7 separate regions of the Homo sapiens genome follow, and regions 1, 2, 3, 4, 5 and 6 are each linked to region 7. The links are contacts of gene promoters, found by promoter capture Hi-C in blood cells and fetal thymus (Javierre and others, 2016). All regions are on one chromosome and are shown on one strand. The core of a region is centred on a gene start or on the middle of the fragment in contact, and the rest is flanking DNA. Distances in the headings are between cores, read along the strand shown. Region 1 has its middle 200 kb from the start of PIK3R1. Region 2 overlaps LOC105379013 (a long non-coding RNA gene). Region 3 overlaps PIK3R1 (phosphoinositide-3-kinase regulatory subunit 1). Region 4 overlaps PIK3R1 (phosphoinositide-3-kinase regulatory subunit 1). Region 5 has its middle 170 kb from the start of PIK3R1. Region 6 has its middle 150 kb from the start of PIK3R1. Region 7 holds the start of CD180 (CD180 molecule).

What was found. The method cuts DNA at HindIII sites, captures the fragments that hold promoters and counts their contacts. A CHiCAGO score of 5 or more calls a contact.
Region 1: a contact is called between a fragment that was not itself captured here and the fragment with the promoter of CD180 in region 7, in 1 of 17 cell types (M2 macrophages). The highest score is 7.8, in M2 macrophages.
Region 2: a fragment that was not itself captured here is called in contact with the fragment with the promoter of CD180 in region 7 in 1 of 17 cell types (non-activated CD4 T cells); the score reaches 9.2 in non-activated CD4 T cells.
Region 3: a contact is called between a fragment that was not itself captured here and the fragment with the promoter of CD180 in region 7, in 3 of 17 cell types (activated CD4 T cells, non-activated CD4 T cells and total CD4 T cells). The highest score is 5.4, in activated CD4 T cells.
Region 4: a contact is called between a fragment that was not itself captured here and the fragment with the promoter of CD180 in region 7, in 8 of 17 cell types (non-activated CD4 T cells, activated CD4 T cells, naive CD8 T cells and 5 more). The highest score is 20.1, in non-activated CD4 T cells.
Region 5: a fragment that was not itself captured here is called in contact with the fragment with the promoter of CD180 in region 7 in 1 of 17 cell types (monocytes); the score reaches 5.5 in monocytes.
Region 6: a fragment that was not itself captured here is called in contact with the fragment with the promoter of CD180 in region 7 in 1 of 17 cell types (monocytes); the score reaches 5.4 in monocytes.

What each region holds. Positions count from the first base shown.
Region 1 is chr5:68,416,161-68,418,860 of GRCh38, reverse strand. No RefSeq gene overlaps it. Among named protein-coding and RNA genes, the nearest start is that of PIK3R1, 200 kb to the right of the region's middle. The HindIII fragment of the contact is 4,501 bases long and covers 1-2,700 here.
Region 2 is chr5:68,457,032-68,459,731 of GRCh38, reverse strand. All of the region lies in intron 3 of LOC105379013 (a long non-coding RNA gene), which reads left to right. Among named protein-coding and RNA genes, the nearest start is that of PIK3R1, 240 kb to the right of the region's middle. The HindIII fragment of the contact is 1,381 bases long and covers 606-1,986 here.
Region 3 is chr5:68,295,754-68,298,453 of GRCh38, reverse strand. PIK3R1 (phosphoinositide-3-kinase regulatory subunit 1) reads right to left here. Exons shown (of 16, transcript NM_181523.3): 15 at 2,113-2,283; 16 at 1-1,042. The coding sequence ends at 853. Among named protein-coding and RNA genes, the nearest start is that of PIK3R1, 81 kb to the right of the region's middle. The HindIII fragment of the contact is 1,503 bases long and covers 500-2,002 here.
Region 4 is chr5:68,277,121-68,279,820 of GRCh38, reverse strand. PIK3R1 (phosphoinositide-3-kinase regulatory subunit 1) reads right to left here. Exons shown (of 16, transcript NM_181523.3): 5 at 88-219. Among named protein-coding and RNA genes, the nearest start is that of PIK3R1, 63 kb to the right of the region's middle. The HindIII fragment of the contact is 4,294 bases long and covers 1-2,700 here.
Region 5 is chr5:68,386,005-68,388,704 of GRCh38, reverse strand. No RefSeq gene overlaps it. Among named protein-coding and RNA genes, the nearest start is that of PIK3R1, 170 kb to the right of the region's middle. The HindIII fragment of the contact is 1,595 bases long and covers 645-2,239 here.
Region 6 is chr5:68,367,343-68,370,042 of GRCh38, reverse strand. No RefSeq gene overlaps it. Among named protein-coding and RNA genes, the nearest start is that of PIK3R1, 150 kb to the right of the region's middle. The HindIII fragment of the contact is 2,224 bases long and covers 189-2,412 here.
Region 7 is chr5:67,195,416-67,198,115 of GRCh38, reverse strand. CD180 (CD180 molecule) reads left to right here and starts at 1,317. Exons shown (of 3, transcript NM_005582.3): 1 at 1,317-1,564. The coding sequence starts at 1,475. RefSeq lists an enhancer at 2,344-2,493. The HindIII fragment of the contact is 10,485 bases long and covers 1-2,700 here.

The DNA of each region.
Region 1 (2,700 bases), core at 159-2,658, 1.2 Mb before region 7:
TTAGCTACAAGGGAGGCAGGGTAACGTGGCAACATGGTCTTTATTTAGGACAATCTTGTGTCTGCTGAAAATTCTATTACCAGAAAAGGTGAAAATGAATAGTAGAGGACAACTGGCAGGCTCTGCCACAATTTTTTAAAAAAATAAATTTTGGGGGGCGTTTGGTGGAATGAAGACTATGTATTTCTAAGAAGCAAACCAAAGATTTGTCCCTAAAGTACACATCATTACCTGTCCAGATACAAACACACGAATTTATATATATGTAAATACTTGAGCAATAGAATTATATTTTAAGTCAAGTAGACAGAGTAAAGAGTTTATTGGGAACATTTTTAAGCTATTTCTATAAATAGGAATGACTTGTCCTGGAATGTTTCCTTCAGGATTGCAATAATCTTCTGAGCCATTAAGTTAGTCAATGACCTTGAGCAGCTCAGCTAGGCACCAGATGATGAAATCTCTGATATCTCTGGGGTCCCGGTTGGCAGAATCATTTCAACTTAGTGCTAGGGAACAATGGCCCATGGACTAGCAAGTCTGCATATTCCCTCATAGAAGAGTAATCTATTGCGGGAGACTTTGACACCTAAGTTTCGGCAAGCTGTGGGGAAAGTATGAATACATGTGTGTTGGTACTTGTGCAGACTGGAAATCTGTCTTCAGGAATTAAATGAAGCACTGCATGAAATAAGGCACTTAATAGAAATTTCTGGTGCCTTTGTCGGCAAACCTATCCCTTGGGTGATGGTCTCTATCCAACAGAAATCAAAATAAACTTTTGGGTTTTCAGGTTAACTTTTTTAAAGGGGCATAAAACATTTTTATTTAATTTTGTTCTTTTCTCTTTTCTGTATCAAACAAGAAATGATTTTTTTTTTTTTTTTTTCCACCAGAGGTATTAAAATGCTGCAAGGGAGCAGCCTCTGGCTTGACCAGAAACACATAAACTTGAAACTGTGAATGTTGGTTTGCACATATGTTAAGTTAAAAGTAATGATATATTTTCAAAAGTCATTACATTTTTTAAAAAAACTTTGTTAGCTAAAGCAGAAAAGTAAAATTCAATTAGGAGCACACCTTAGCAAAAAAAAAAAAAAAAAAAAAAAAATCTTTTTACCTATGATGATCACATGCTTTTATAAGGGTCATCTCTCCACAGTCCCATAATCCCATTATAAGAGCCCTCTACAGTACATTTCTGAATGCCAAAAAGTTATTTTATTAACTGTGCTTAGACGAATCTATTAACAAGGTCCAATAGTCCCAGGCAAAACAACAAACTAGGAAGATGTTGTGCAAACATGGATGTGTTCTCTAATGTGTAGAATTTCTGTGATAGTTTTGGCTTTGTAATTTTGTACATTACTACAAGCAGTTCTGGACATGAAACAATTACCTTGTAATTGAGCTCCGCTACTCAGTTTCTATGTCTGAATTTGCATTTATGTTCCTATCCCTTTAGCATTACTGAAGACCAAACGGCATCATAGCATGATGAGTAGAAGCAGCATTCACAATTTAAATGAGGAAACTGAATAGTGAAGAAATTGAATACCCTCAGCAATTGGCAGCCCAGTCATGCCTTGTTCAAAGACTCAGTCACAGTGGTCAGCATCAAGACCCTGTGGCTAGCAAACATGTTAGTGGGCACCCATCTTTGTACTCCAGCACATCGAGCAGTTCATAAGGGGGCAGTACAGGTAGTTACAAAAAGACAGTGGAAAACTCCTTATTCAGTGGAATTCAATGGGTTTTTTCCTGCTAGTATTGCATTTTGAAACACAGTTTTAAGTGGCCCATGAACCTAATTGGTTTAAAATGAGTTAATTTTTTAAAGAAAAATAACAATAATGTCTTAAATAATGCCTTATCAAAAGCAAAAGAATCAAGTCCAAAAAATGAGACATAAAGCATGCAAATGCATTTGTCTTATTAAATCAATCTAGATGACTCTGTTTCAGTAAAACAGAACCATCCTTATTAAATTACTTTTGCTAATTTGAATTTATAGTTTTTATAGCTTATTTCTTTGGGATTTAGAGTTGTACTACAGGTGTGTACATGTGTTCAGTACCTATAAGCATTTTCGTAATTAAGTAAAATGATAAAACACTGAAAATCCTGAAATGTCAAATTTTTCCTTTAAAAAGAGACCATACAAATAGTTTGCAAAACACAGACCAAAAGGGTAATTTTCAGTGTCTCCTTTGTCTACATTTCAGCATCATTTCCCACCAGGACTTTCAGACCCACCTGCTTCCCTCCCACAATTCCTCCCACAATTGTTAAGGAGCCCCACAGCTGAGCCCAACCAGCCTGAGCCTCACCTAACTCAAAGTCACCCTTTCTGAGTAGGAGACAGACTTTAACCCTAATGAGCACTGGTGAAATGTCAGAAGGTTAGTTTAATAAACAAGGTACAATAAATGAAGAACATTAATTTATATTCAACACCAGAAAGCAGAGATGAAGCAGGTGTCAGTCGGCCGAGGGCCAATCCTATAGAGTGATCATTTAATACATTGAATTGGAAATGTCATTGTAGCAACTGGGGCACATAAGAAGGGTTCTTTTGAAAGTTTCCAATAATCAAATTTAATGTGGCCTATTATAATTTTGAGTCTTTCTTAAGGCTCACAAATTAAATTTGTTATCCATTTGTGTATATATTTTACTATCAAACAGCTTTTCATTTTC
Region 2 (2,700 bases), core at 47-2,546, 1.3 Mb before region 7:
GACTGGCAATGAGGCTCCCTGAGGCTGGTGTCTGGTTATTTCAGTCACCTTACAATCAGATTAGATCTATCCACCTTGCAAGATTGCCCCTTCCTTGCCAACATACTAGAAACCAGTTTATCTGTTCAAATACTGCATATGGACCCAGACTCTGTAAAACCATGACTAGGATGTTTGATGTGTTATCTTAGGGTTTTTCTGTTTGTTGCTGTTTTGAGAAATAGACATGTAGGTGGTAACATGCTGCAGTAGAACCATCGACTTTGGAGCCCACTAGACAAGGCTTAAATTCTGCCTCCACTTGTGTGTCAGCTGGGTCTCCTCACTGTATTGCTTGACTCTGAGTATCAGATTTCTCATCACGGTATTTACCTTACAGACTGAGGATTAAAGGAGAAAGTTCATATGAAGTGCCTAGATCAGCACCTGGCACTGTACAAATGAGTCTCCCACTTGAAGAATATGGCTGGCTTTCAGAATTAGGAGAGAGTAAGCAGTAGAATTCCACCATGTAATGAATTCAAGGTCATGGCTATTGAAGGAAGGTATTGTCTTTAAAACGTCCCATGAAAAATAGCTTAGATAAACATTCTAGTAGATAAGCTTCAGAAAAGTAATTTTTAACCTACTCCAAACTAATGCCATGGTGTTCTCATTGTTCCTCTACTTTTATAAACAGTGGCATTACTAAATTACAGCCTAAATTCCCCCATGCATTTTAGTGGTGATCCAAGAGCATGCTCAGTTAAAAACATGGGTGGAAGGATTTAGGAGAGTTAGCCACCTCTCCCTACACAATATTTCTAGGGTGCAGAGACAACACTTCTGCTTCCTTTTAAACCCAGTATTTGCTTAGTTTTCAGAAAGAATGAGGCAGTCCCCAAAGGCATGTTGGTCTAAGCATAGAAGCACCATAGTGATGGCATGTTTTCCTAGTTTTACACAGTTGATTTATACCCACTGAGTGCATAGTATGTCTAGGGCACTGGTCATGTATTATTTCATTCAAACTCTACCACAACTTGATGAAGGAGTCACTATTATCAACTTCCATATATTGATGGAGAGGCTGAGGTTTGGAGAAAGTATGTTGCTCACCCAGGTCATGCAGGTGTCAGTGTGGTGAAGCCAGGATGGAGCCCAGCAGCAACATCCGAGCCCCTCCTTCTTCCTGCTGCCTCTTTAGTCTCTTTTTTTTTTTTTTTGTATTTTATTGGCTTTTCTGAATGTGGTAATAACGGGCAAAAGGGCAGGGGCAAAAAATCAAGGAACTTAAGGAATTCACTGAGATCTAAAACGTATTTATATCCACACAGTCTACGTTAACATGATTTTACTATTCCAGGATCTTCATCAGCATAACTTTACTGTTCCAGAAAACTCTTCCTCAAGAAGATAACAGTTACAAATAACTGTATTGTTCATTCCAGGAATTTCCCCAAAGACACATCAACTCGTCAATAGAAAGCATTCAAGGAAAATTTTAAAATTTGAGCATTTCCGAGTCTTTGCCCTCAAAATCTTCATCTTGTGTTTGCCCATTCTAAGTGATTAGATTATGGTCCTCACTAGACCCCAGCCAGGGCTCCCTGGCTCTCACACTAAAAGATACACATTGGAAAAAATCCAGACTTCACAATCTCAAAAATACTCCCAACTTTGCTCCATCCCCTACCTGCACCCCGAGACTCTAGTGAGATTTTTTGTAAATAGTGTTCTCCATTAACTTTAAGCCATCAGTTCTCAACTGGGGATGATTTTGCCTCCCAGGGGATATTTGGCCATGTCTGGCAACATTTCTGGTTGTCATGACTGGGGCTGCTCCTGGCATCTAGAGGGTAGAAGTCAGGAATGCTGCTAAACATCCTATAATGCACAGGACAGCCTCCTCCCCTAATAAAGACTGTCCAGAATCAACAGATTATTTTAATAATATTTTGGAGAGCCACTAATTAGCAATATCTCAGTTAGTGCTACGAAGAAGCTTCCCAAACTCTGAACCCTTCTGGTTATGTTTTTACTCTCTTGATTGCCAGTGTTCTTGCAGGTTCATGAGCCCCAAATCCATGAAGCCCGTCCTTAAGAAATTTCATTCCCAGAGGCTAGACTGCAGACATTTACCTACTCTTCTTATGATGGGGGTTTCCATCTCCTAAGATAGGATCACTTGGTGGCTCGGTTATTTTTTTTAAGACAGGGTCTTGCTCTGTTGCCCAGGCTGGAATGCAGTGGCGCAATCACGGCTCACTGCAGCCTTGGCCTCCCGGGTGTCAGGCGATTCTCCTACCTCAGCCTCCCGAGTAGCTGGGATTGCAGATGTGAGCCACCGCACCTGGCCAAGTTATCTTTAATTTCTACATTGTGTATTGTGTATCAGCTGTTTGAAATGATGAACCTGAGTCCACAATTTTTTTAGAAGATGCTGTTAACTATCTTAATAATGGCAGCATTCCTGAGGTTGTGAAAATGACTTTACTGAACAGGAAGCATGTTTTCCTTATAGACAAATAGCACGAATTCATATTACTTATAAAAGATACTGCCTCTTGAAATTAGCACTTTGAATTTCACCTTTTCGTCTAGATATTTCCACTGGTAACAAAATTTCCCTGGAAGTCAGTGTTTGGAGTTATAAGATCAATTTGTGACCCAAAAATATAAACGGTCTACCTTTTATCCTGTTTGTGATGAGTGAAAGGC
Region 3 (2,700 bases), core at 2-2,501, 1.1 Mb before region 7:
TACATTTAAAACTGAAATAACAACTTAATGAAAATTAAGAATTGCATAGCGCTGTGAATTTAGCCTTCAGCAAAACAAAACAGAAGCTATTTGGTATTGATACAAATCCATCTATTTGATAGTTAGTCATCCAATATTATGTACATATTTTATATACTGAATGTCATTTTAAGTCCTGTTTTCCAAACTCCATTTTTCTGTTGCTGGGTTTTTGTTTTTTGACAAGTTAAACACTTTCTGGCACTTTCTATGACAGAATTTCTTCTGAACATACATGAACTGACATTCTCCCAAAGCGTCCCTTGTGAGTGGACGTGCCTTTCTGCTACATATCGTTCATTTGTTACAAAATGAAATAATCCACAGTGCGATGTGTCTGGGTCCACCGTGCACAGCAACATCCAGGCTAAACCAGGCTGGACCAAACCTTCTCAGGCCAGGGTTCTTCTGCCTCTCTCTCCTCCGCTCTCCAGAGTCCCAACTTTCAGCTGGTAAAGCTTCAGAAAGCATTAACAAGCACCATGGTTAAAGGCCTCTTTGTCCCTGCACGCAGAGATTTTTGCATTTCTTTTTCTCTTTGTGTTGTATGTGGTTGTGGCTTTAAATTAAACCAAAGAAAAAAAGAAAAAGAAGGGATAAGCACTCCAGCTTAGGAACGTGTGGTCATCATACAGCCTTAGGCTGCATGTCTTCCCCTACTTCTTTTTTGTGAAAGAAAGCTCTAGTCCCATCCAAAGAAAGATGGCTTCGTTTCTGCAGCTCAATTCACAGATCAGACTGGAGAGGAGCCCTTTGCTTTCCAGAGGCCTCAGGGTGGCTGAACTTCAGGAGAAGGATCAAAGAGTAAGCGCTTCATCGCCTCTGCTGTGCATATACTGGGTAGGCTAGTGTGACATTGAGGGAGTCGTTGTGCTGCACAAGGGAGGTGTGTTGGTAATGTAGCACCAGTTCTTTCAGAGAGCTGTACAAGTTATAGGGCTCGGCAAAGCCATAGCCAGTTGCTGTTTTGTTTATGACACAATGCTTTACTTCGCCGTCCACCCTAGAGAGGAGAGAAGAAAAACTGTCTTTTGAGCTTGTCCAAGACAATTCACAACTCTTCAGGGCATCTTTAATAAAAAGCATTATTGTGCAGTCTCAACTTGGGGAAAGGGTCCTAGGTTACAACTGACACCTGGCCGAGTGCCTTGGGTAGGTAACCCAGCTTCACTGACTGACTGTATTTTCATCTTTAAAATGGTTTAAAGGGAAGACAATAGTAAAATACATGTAATACAGTTACTTTGAGAAATGAAATGAGATCATGCATGCAAAATGCTAGATAGAATGCCTGACATGCAGTAAGCATGCAACAAGTGGTAGCTTCCAATCATGATGAGGACAACTATCTGCAGTGCTCCATGACTAGCAGTGTTACTATTACTCCCATTATGACTATTCATAGGATTCCTTCTTTCTGGCTGTCCTTGAGGTGTCTGCACAACTCTCCATCTCTGCATGTGCCCTTATGCACAGTAAGGACAAAAGTACCCTTCTTTGCTGTAGGACTATTTCTCTCATTAAATGAAAGGTGATCATGGAGTGTAACATACTTTTAGAACCATTCCCTACTAGAGGACATTAATTTCTTGGAAATGGTGATGTCAGTGATCCAATGTGGGTGTACCTATCTCAAGGATAATGATCAGAATCCTTTTTTTTTTCACCTGTTCCTGATGAGTATTTTTCCTATGGGTGATGTTCTCACATAAATTACCTCAGATTCTAACTATAGTAGCCTTGAGAGGCAAAAAAGGCAGGCACTGCCACTTCCATTTTAAAGATGAGAAAAAAAGACTTGGCGATTTCTCATGATTAATTAGCACTGAATGGGAATCCAAACCTAGTCTTCCAACTAAACAGTAGGTATCTATTAGACTGTATTAACATACACTTCTGGCTAGACTTTAAAATGGTATTACAGCTGCTTTGGTTTCTCTTCTACATTATTGTACTGTAAGCTTATTCAAGACTAAAACTATGTCAAATCTTTGCCCCCAAAACTCAATGAATGAATAAATGAAACATCTCTTCATGAGATGTTGTAAAGAAAAGTTTGCTGGAGATACATACACTACAGAGCAGGCATAGCAGCCCTGTTTACTGCTCTCCCGGACAAGAAAAGTGCCATCTCGCTTCCCTCGCAACAGGTTTTCAGCTTTGTTTCGGTTGCTGCTTCCAACATTCCATGTCTTCTCATCATGATGGGGCAAATCTTCATCATCTTCCACCAGTGAATATTGGCTAGGCAGGCAGGACAGAAAGTTTCTAAATGAAGAGTGCAGGAGCCATCAGCCTGCCTTGCTGTCTTCCCTAGGCATACCCCCGTCACTTCCCTCCTGGCCCCTACCAAGCCAGTCAGACTGGCCATCACATGCCTGCCTCTGCCCGACCTGAGTTTTCCTCTCCTGGTATTCAGCCTCCAGTGCAACCTCCCAGGACAAAGAGTTACCAATCAACTGTACTATTTCTGTTTTCAAGCAACCACACTCAGGTACCTGGGCAGAGTGGAAGGTATTAAAACAATCTCGTTTATCCAGTTTAGATCAGGAAATTGACTAGGCAGATTGCCAGTTTTTGACTAATTCAAACAAAGTATATACTTAAGCTTTAAAATATATTAAGCATAATTATTTTTTCTCTGACTGTTCCAAAAATATT
Region 4 (2,700 bases), core at 152-2,651, 1.1 Mb before region 7:
CACTATTTCTATATATGCAAGACATATACAAGCACCTCTACATCTCCATGTATGTTCAATGAGGTTCCCAGAAGAGAAAAAACAAACCTGGAGCTAAAGAAATCATTTCACTGTAAACGGCTGCTGGAATGACAGGATTTGGTAAGTCCAGGAGATAGCGTTTGAAAGCGTCAGCCAAAACGTGCACATCGATCATTTCCAAGTCCACGGAGGGTGTATCTAGGAAACAATTTAAGAAATATTTCAGACATTTATTTTATAGAATACATCAGTTGGGCTAATTTTCTGAACAATTTGACTCACATGTGACAAAAAAAAAAAAAAATAAGGAAGCAATATGAGGATAAATACAAGACACAAAGTATTCGTTAGCCGTACTTCTTGTAGGGGTTGCTCCGGGCATTTGGGGTAGAACAATTTTTCCTGTGGAGGTCTCTCTGACATATTGCAAGCACTTAGGATGCCTGACCCCCTGCCCATGATGCCAGTAGCAGACCTCCACACTTTGGGGCAACAAAAAATAATGCCTTTGTTATGGGCTGAATTGGGCTGCATCTTCAGTGGTTACCTACCCCATCCTCTGTCCCACCCCTCTAAGCCCAAACTCCTAATGCCTCAGAAAGTGACTGCATGTAAGTTAAAATGAGGCCATTAGAGTGGACTCTAATCCAATGTAACTGATATCCTTCTAGGAGGGGAAATGAGGACACAGAGAGAGACACACTAGGGATGCACAGGCACAGAGGAGAAACGCTGTGAGGATGCAGTGAGCAGGTGACCATCTACAAGCCAAGGACAGAAGCCTCAGGGGAAACCAAACATGCTTTTTTCTCGGACTTCTAGCCTCCAGAACCACGAGAAGTAAGTTTCTGCTTTTTGAGATGGAGTCTCACTCTGTAGCCAAGGCTGGAGTGCATCTCTGGTGTGATCTCGGCTCACTGCAACCTTCACCTCCCGGGTTCAAGCGATTCTCCTGCCTCAGCCTCCTGAGTAGGTGGGATTACAGGTGTGTACCACCACGCCTGGCTAATTTTTGTATTTTTAGTAGAGACAGGGTTTCATCATGTTGGTCAGGCTGGTCTCAAACTCCTGACCTCGTGATCCACCCGCCTCAGCCTCCCAAAGTGCTGGGATTACAGGTGTGAGCCACTGTGCCTGGCCAAGTTTCTGCGTTTTAAGCCACGCAGTCTGTGGTAACTTGTTATAACTGCCTGAGCAAACGAATACAGAACCCAAACATTTCCTAACATCCTCTGAGGGTGGTTCTGCCCTGACTGAAAAGGGTTCTAACTAGGAATGGTTAGTCATATAGTAAATGTTTCCTAAAACCTCAACAGGAAAAATTTAAAAATGCATATTCCCAGATTTCCTAAGACTTGAGTTGATATGTCTCAGAATTCATGTAAATGTCACCAACAGAGTGATGGATTCAACAGTAAGATACTACAGACTTTTAGCAACCAATCTCAAGAATATCCATGAAAATAATTTGAACATTTTTAGAATGTTTCTCCCTAATTCTGTCTGAGTATTACTAATCTAACCTGTGGATATCAGACAATCTCAGAAAATAAGATGAGCATACCTGTCCAGTAAATCCCTCAGCTGGGAAACAGGTCAAGCAATCCAATAATGGGGGTAAAACTAATCAATACCACCCTCCAGGCACTCACTACGCATGGCACTCTAAGTACTTGGGTTGGAAAAAGACACAATGCCCAGCAGAAGAAAGGGATGCTAGAAACAAAGATCTGGGGGCAGGGGTGACCATGGGCCTCTAGAAAAGGAGAGGACTTTGGCTGCTGCTGAAGGATGTACACTAGCAATGCGAAGGATAACTTGAGGAAAGTAATCTGGGGACTTGTGTACTCAGTGGAGCAAAGGTGGGCTGATGGGCAAGATACTACGTTTGTAACAGCTTTACTAATGACAGTGTTAAGAATAAATTGGAAGGGAGTGCTGCTAGAAGTAAAACTACCAGATTTAGTTCTCTGAATCAAGGTGATGGGGGTCTGAATTCTAATGCAGTTAGAAATGTACAAAATATTATCGAGACCTCATATAACTCGGTGATTGACTGCATTGGGCTGTGGCCTAGGAGAGAATGAGGAAGTATGAAAGTTTACTGCAAAGTGTTTGAGTATAAATGAGTGGGAGAAGGTAGTATCCTAGATAACCTTGAATGGAATATGACAGTACAAATCATTCTAGGTTGAGCCTAAGACTACAAAAATTCCTTGGACATATCATCATAAACCAAACTTGCCCCACTAGGTAGGCCGACGTTCCGAAAGTGAGTCACACAACCACACAGCTCTAAGAAAAGTAGGTCTGGAATAGGATATGGATAGGTCAACTTGAGGAAAAGAATTATTAAATTTAAAAGGTGAAGAGGCGAAGTGTTAAATCACTTAAATGTCCTACAAACAACCAACCAGAGACATATCACATGTTTAACAAGTGTGGGAGGGGCAATACCACTGTAGTAGATCCTCTGCATAAAGGATCTACGTTGAAGGTAATGCAATTGTGAGCATAATTAAATACTGTCAAATAAAATTGTGTGTGTGCTGCTATAGGAATTCTCTATGGTCACCACTCTTGGCCGTGCTTCTGGTTTCCCATACACTTTGCCCCGCATGTTTCATCTAATGTCTCTCTGCCCGGAAAATTAATATTACCGAATTTGCTTATCCTAAA
Region 5 (2,700 bases), core at 193-2,692, 1.2 Mb before region 7:
CCTACAGCAGTTTAAAACTTGTTTCTCTGGGGAAAAAAGCTGGGCAAAGTGTGAAGCCTTTCTGGAGAAAGGCTTCCTCCCCTCTCCCAACCTGCACCCCCAGGGATGCTTTCCCAGGACTCTTTCAGTCTTTTATGTGAGCATCCACTGAGGTCAGTGGAGACAATCCTTCATGAATTCACCTTCTATCTGTGGCCCCCAGAATTCTATACTTTCTCATTAGTCTACATTGGCCACTCTCAATCAATTCATTAGTAATTTTAGCTGAATTCTTCTTGCTGGTGGGTGTTCATTGTATGAGCCCTAGGAAAAAGGAGAGTGTTCACAATCCACCTCTTCTTGCAGTCACCTGTCTTCCTTAAATTGTGAGTTAGTTGGTTGACTTATGACCTCAGCTTTTTGAGAAATCTATAAAAGGTTATAAATATACAATTGTCTGACTTTATATTGCTGTAAGAATGAGATTGGAGCTCTTCCTAGCTTTCTACATTCCACAGGTAAATTGAAAACATGAATTATTATTTTGTTGAATACTTCCCTCCCATCTAAAGAGGAGTTTGAAATGGTGATTCTGAGAATATCTTTCTGGAACCCAGTCTAATATAAAATCCTTTTCCTTGCCCTTAATAGAGGAACCAGAAGCTTTCTGAAAGGAGAGAAGAAAGGAAGGATAAAATAGCTATAATATAATTCCCTGCTTAGCTTTTTCTTCTCTCCTTGATAGAGGTTAAGTGGGATATTAATATTTTCTCAGAGTCCAAAAACAACAGGTTTGAGCTACGAAAGCTAGACACTATCTGGGGGCCAGAGAAAAATGGAGAAAATCTTTAGCCACTTCTAAATTTTCATTTCAGTTTTAAGTGAACTGAAAAGAAAATTCTATCAAAAGTTCCTTAAGGAATTCAAAAATGTAGGAGAATAATTGATAGTATACATTTATCTTCTTTGCATCCCCCTTCTCAACCCCTGCCCAGTGCAAATGGAGCTCAAATTCACTACCCCTTTTGGAGAAGGCCTGAGTCAGGTCATGAGTGGAGGATGAAACACTGTTCCTTCCTGCCATTCACTTCTATTAAATGGTGGCATCCACACCTTGGCCATGTTTGCATCACAACACACATCGTCAGTTTGCTTTGACCCTGACACCATTTTATAGGCTTAATAATAATAAATCTATGTCCTGAAATAGTTTCACAGATTATAGCAATCAATCAAGATTCAAGGAGCCCAAGACCATTAATGTCATCAGCAGTGATCCAGCACCCCAAGAATCCATCTAAATCAGCCATTACGACAGAAAGTACACCTTAAGAGCCTGACGATAGAGGGAGTAGATGGAAACATAAATTGCAATTCTATTTTTATCAGCCATCAAGGGATGATTTTCTTGTGGAGGCTTTGTCTATTCCTGGTAGGAAATGAAACTAGGACTTGCTGATTCCTACTCCAAATGATAAACTGTCAAGATTTTGCTGGCCCTGGGACTACGAGCACTGCAGTGCAGTCTATAGCAGCCTGCAAGCCTAAGCACTGGGGATTTTTCTTTTGAAACTCCCCAACATGTTAAATCAAGGCACTGTATTTTGTCCCCTTTGTAGATGGCCCAAATGCTCACTCATTGCCATTGTCAAGAAAAATCCTAAAGGTACAATCAGCTGAAAAGGACTTGAGATGCAGACACATGGCAGTCTCAGACATGTATTTGATGGCTGTGGTTAATCATTAAAACTCTGAGAAATGAGGAATAGAGGAGAATAAAACGATTTTCCCTTAGGTATTCTGTAGTTTGAACTTTTCTGTAACTTCAAAAACATTTCTTGTAAGGCAGTATGGTGTAGTGAAATCAACTGAGATTGAAAAGTCAGGAAAGCTGAGTTCTAGTCTCAGCTCTCTCACTAGCTAGTTGTATGACCTTAGGCAAGTCATCTCACATTTATAGATCTTGTTTCTCCATCTGTTAAATGTACAATTGCTGTAAATCAGGTATTCTAAATCAGTGATGCAAGGACCAGATCTAGACGTAAATTTTTTTGTTGTTATTTAGCTTGAGTATGTGTGTATAAGTGTGTGTATAAGAGCTAAATAATGACTTAAATATCATTGTCGTAGTCTATGTTGTGTTGCTGTAACAGAATACCTTAGACTGGAATACCACAGACTGGGTAGTTGATTTAAAAAAATGGTTTATTTGACTTATGATTCTTGAGGCTGGGAAGTCCAAGAGCATATGGAAAAAGCTTTTGTGCATCATTCTGTAACAGAAGGCAAAAGAGCAAGAGAGCACAAGAGCAGACAAGTAAGATAGAGCCAAGCTCTCATGATAACTAACCCACTCCTGAGATAATGGCATTAATCCATTCCTAATCACCTCTTAAAGGTCCTACCTCTCAACACTGTTGCATTGGGGATTAAGTTTCCAACACATGATCTTTGGAGGACACATTCAAACCACAGTAATCAGTAAATTTCACATAGAAACTACCATTTCATAATCAGAGACACTGGCAATACTGGGCCATATCTCTACATGGCAGCAGTGGTATTCCTGGGTAATGGGTGCCTCTTTGGGTGGATCCTGCCCTCCTCTCCATGACCCTAGAGGCTCCACCTATTGCCCTACTCGTCCCTACCATCATGACTCATTCGTATTAACTGCCTGGCTCTTGTAGGTACAGATGTTGGCAACTCTTAGATTAGATA
Region 6 (2,700 bases), core at 51-2,550, 1.2 Mb before region 7:
AGCGATCCCACATTTTATACACCCAGAAGAATTAAAAGCAGGATCTTGAGAAGACATCTGCACTCCCATGTTCCCATGTTCACAGCAGCATTATGTACAGTAGACAAGAGGCAAAAGGCACTCATTCATCAACAGATGAATGGATAAACCAAATGCAGAATGTGCATACAATGGAATATTATCAAGCTTTAAAAAGGAAGGAAATTCTGACAAATGTTACAACACGGATAAGCCTTGAAAACATTACGCTAAATGAAAGAAGCCAGTCGCCAAAAGACAAATACTGTATGAGTCTACTTATACGAGGTACCTAGAATAGTCCAATTCGTAGAAACAGAAAGTAGAATGGTGGTTGACAGGGACTGGGGGGAGGGGAAAGTGGGGAGTTGTTTAACGTATATGTAGTTTCAGTTTTGAAAAATAAAAAAGTTCTAAAAATGGGATGTTCTAAAAATGGGATGTTCAACAATGTGATTGTCTTTAACAGTACTGAACTGTACACTTAAAAATAGGGAAGACAGTACCTTTTGCTATGTGTGTGTCTTTTTTACCATAATCAGACATTTAAAAAATTACAAAAAATTGATTTTTTAAAGATAGGAGACCTTAACAGTGATAAAACAAACAAACAACAGCAATAAACCCTTGTCTTAACAACTTTATGAGGTCAGCTTTCCTTTCATTTTCCTGGTAGAGAAGACTTTTAGGAACATCAGCACAGGAGAAGGATTCCTTGGAGGGCCTGCTCTAAAGGCTGGTGAGTCTATTTAGTCAGGTTATTCTGGAAGCCAGCCAACATACAAAAAATACAACAGTTAAGATATAAATGCTCTGTTATGCTTCTCTCTCTCAAAAAAAAAAAAAAAAAAAAAAAGAATGAATGACTAAATAAATAAAAGGTGATTCAAAATTCTCTGGCCTGTTTCCAGGATCAAGCCTGGGGAGCCGCATTAGAGTGCCCACCCTGAGTGGTACTCCACACCTACACACTTCTCTGTTCTGCTGGTGCTGCCCAGGAGACCTGGGAAACTTGGCATGTGAATGGACAGTGATGGATAAATGAATCAATCTTTCTATTTTGCTTTGAAAGTACACCTCCAGCTTCCTCCTCTCTAGGGTGCCAGCCCTGCCCCCTCAGGCTGTGTTAGACCCTGCTATGTGCACCTATATTGTTCTCTGCATCTGCATACTCGTATCTCAGCATTTCTTGTGTTATAGTGTAATGACTTGGTACATCTCTCTCACCCACAGGTCTGTGAGATCCTTAAGAGCAAAGGGTTTCTGACCACTGCCATAATGCCTAGAATATGGCTGACAATAAGTAAACATCATATAATGACATCAGTGACTGGTTTTGCATTCTCAAGATGGGAATGCCCTTTTTGGACAACTAGATATGCACATGGAATAGTCCAGGTCATTTTCTGGCTCCGGTGGTGTGCTCGTGCTCAGAGCTTCTTCGAGTTCTACCTTCACCTTCCATGACTTGCCTCCTTTCTCCAATTATTCATCCCTTCCCTAAGTATGTGCCTGTGGTTTCTGTTTGATTTGTTTGGGTTTTACATGTCCTTATTAGTCATGTGTGGGTGTCCCTGTGCTGCTATTATCTTCTGAACTTCTCAAGGACAAAGTATCCAACACATTCTTTGTGTCTTCCCAGAGCACCCATCCACACACTGAGACAGCAAGTTTAAAAGCAGTTACTGTTTGAAGAATATCCAACACGAACTGCTGGGCTGACACCTCTACCTGCACGTGTTGCCAGGACCTCAGAAAGTGAACAAGTCATCTTTTCTCCGTCAACCAGCTCATTTTTCTGAATTCCTTGAGGGGTGGTGGTTTATGTTTTTGCTTTTCCAGAAAGGGTACTTTTCTTAATGGCACATATTCTCCTACATCCTAAGACTTGAATGAAGCCTTGCTATGATCTTTGAGCTTGACTTTCTTCAAACTTGCCCTATCTTGTCCCCACAGAAAATTTAGGCACTGACTTCTACTGATTATTTCCACAGAATTTTCTCCCTTTTCACCTCTCCCAATTGTCATCACCCCGTAGCAGCTGACACCTAGACCAGGGGCTTTGCATGCCAGTTTCTATCTGTCAGAGTGGCTGTCTAGGCAGAATAGAGTTTTGAAAAGACTCTGATGCCTTGTCTCGGATCAGCAGGAGAGAATATTTTAATCAATCAGAGGTGTCTGTCATGGGTATAGGAGAAAGTAGCTGTGGTCCAAATGCTGAGATTCTGTCATCTCTGGCCAAGATAAATGCAACAGTCTTGTTTTTTCCCTGACTCTTCTTTCGATGCGTTCTATACAATGACCCAAATTTGACACTTTTAATATAGCATTATGACATCTTGCCTCCTAAATAATAAGTGATACCTGGTTGCCTGCACCAGCATCTGTCAAGCTTCATCTTTCTTGCTACTCACGGCAAAATTCTCCAATGTCTTCCACATTTAGGCTCATTCATGCCTGGGAGCTGAGCTAGTCTAGACTAGGGTAGGAAGCATATCAGCTGCCTCAGCCCCTCCAGATGTGGGGCCTGGAGTTTATCTTGGCTGCCCACAGACTTGGTATCTGTTGTGCCTCGCATAAGCCCTGGGTGCCAACTTAGCCTCCAGGTCACACCACTTGTAATCTTTTTCTCATTTCCCCCTTCCTCATACCCTCAGACATACTGACCCATGGACAGGTCTG
Region 7 (2,700 bases), core at 68-2,567:
TCTTTTCTGAAATCTCCAGATGAACAACATTCTTCGCCCCATCTACTCTTCAGCTCCTTCAGGAGGCAAAGTCCTTTCTTAAACTGTGAAGAGTAGCAGCATAGTCTCTGCAGTGAGATTTTCTGGATCTGAAGCCCTAATCTACCACTCTCTAATTGTGTGGCTTGGAGAGATCATTTAATTTCTCTTAAGCATCAGTTTCTACATCTATAAAATGAGGGAAATAATAATATCTCTCTTATAGAATATATGGAAATATTCGAGGATAGGAAAATGCAGCAAAAAACTGCATTAAACCTGACCCAGTGTCTGACACATAGTAAGGACTCAATAAATGGCAGATACTATAGTCATTTGATTCATCATAGTAATACTGTAGAGGTGGTGGTGGTGGTGGTGGTGGTAGTAGTAGTAGTAGCAGTAGTTAAGTCATTGTGAACTCTGATACTAAGAACTGGGCTCTTGGAAATGGAGTGGGAGAACAGTAACACCAAATATATCCTGTATGCCAGAGGGTTGAAGAACAGACAGAACAGGTAGCTAAATGCAGCCTATTGAGGAATGTTTGAACTTTGGCTTTCTTTAATCATTGCCACATCTTGCTCCATAATAAGGGTAATTGTAATCCTGCTTCAAAGCTATTTCTAAGAAGAAATAGAGCCAAGGCTGGCATCCCTAACTCTACTCTCCTTTAGCCAGGCTGCTCTATCTATGGCAGTGTCCCCTACTTCCCCAGGCCAGGTTAGGAGGGAACAAGAGAGTCCACCCCAACTGCTTTAACAAGCCTGAACCGCCAGGTCAAGAGATGAAGTAATCTTCCCCCTATACGAAGACCAGAGGTGGGGATGGACAAGGTGGCCAAGGCAGCAGCTGAGGCTCAAGGAGCAGATACACTCTCAAGCCTGCTCCCTCCTGCTCCAGTTCCCAGCTCAGCAGGTGCCACTGAAGGGCTCAGTTCTTCAGTCTGCCCCTGCAGAGTGCTCTGCCCTTCCATGTTCTCTGACACCTCTTCTATTCACTCACCTAGGACAACTAAGAAAGTGGCCTCCTTGGTGAGTAGAGCTTCCACAGCCTCTCTCGGGGAAAAGGACCAGAAGCTGTTGGAGTTGGCCAAATGCTTGAAGTTGGCATAAAGTCAATTGGAACCATCACAATGAGAGTCTGTGTGATCAGCCCAAAAGGACTGCACAACTGATTCATGTTCAGTGCCAGGAAATGCAACGGGCCATTCTGGGGTTGGGTCCTCAGTTATTTTTGGCAAAGATGGGTGGTATGCAAAAGGGACTTCCTTTTTTTTTTTTTTTTTTTTTTCCAGCACAGAGCCACAGAATGCTGAGCAGTCAACAGCATTTCTTGTTCCAAGATCACCCTTCTGAGTACCTCTCTGGCTGCCAAATTGCCAGGGCCTTCACAGTTTGATTCCATTTCTCAGCTCCAAGCATTAGGTAAACCCACCAAGCAATCCTAGCCTGTGATGGCGTTTGACGTCAGCTGCTTCTTTTGGGTGGTGCTGTTTTCTGCCGGCTGTAAAGTCATCACCTCCTGGGATCAGATGTGCATTGAGGTGAGTCCAAACTGTTTGTCTTTATGCAGATTAAACTGTCTGAAAATTTTGAGATTTAGCACGCAGTCCAATCTGAGCCTTGGCATCCCAATATCTAGTGTCTTTAAAAAGGAAATAAGGTGTATATATAATTTTTTCATTATTGTGAGAAAGGAGCCAAAGAACTCTGCCAGGGGATCATCTGGTGGCATCTTAATAGGAAGCAAAGAGAATTTTTCTCCTCTTCAAACAATTCCACCCAAATAATCCCAAGTGGGTCATAAGATATTAATAGGGTCTGTGTGCACAAAGCAGACCCCTAAACCTGCCTCAACCTAGGGGAGCTGTTGGTTTAACATCCCCACTCTCACATGGCCTCTATCCCAATGAGTCCTTTGGTCTCCTCTCAGGGTGAGAATTAGTAAAGACAGCGCTGTGCCAGGTTTTCGAGCATTGAAAAGATCACTCTGAATGAGTCTGGCTCTCTCTTGGACTTGGACAGCCTTCCATCTGTTTTACTAACCCATAGGAGGAAAATCTGAGAATAGAGCCAAATTGCACCTTCTGTTTTGGACCATAGCAATATTTATCAACCTGTGGGAAGTTCTTGGAGGGGATAATGAGAGAAAAAGGAGAAGGGCCTCCGTCTCTTGCCATCCTCTAAAATGCTTCAAACTTCCTCCCACTTTCTCTGACCCCACAAGTGATCAATACCACGTGGCCTGTCAGACAAGGGCTGCATACAGGAGGAACCATGAGTCTTGGTGGCTTGGTGAGCTGCTGGTCTGGGTTGAGGTAAAAAGAAGAGTAAGAGCCAGGAATAGCCAGATGTGGAGTTGCCCTGGGGCAGGACTAGAAGGAGATCAGAGGATCAGGAAGAGCAGAGCAAAGCCAGCACTGGGGTAAGGCTCAGAGCTGGGTGAGCAGAGCCTTGTTGGTCTGGCATTAGGATGGAATCAGCAGCAGGCCAAGAGGAGGCATCATGCCAATGAGAAATGAAGGCTGGGAAGGTGTGTGTTGCTTTGCTTGGGCTGTCATAACAAATGCCACAGACTGGGCCAGGCGTGGTGGCTCACGCCTATAATCCCAGCACTTTGGGAGGCCAAGGTGGGTGTATGCCTTGAGACTGGGAGTTCGAGACCAGTCTGGGCAACATG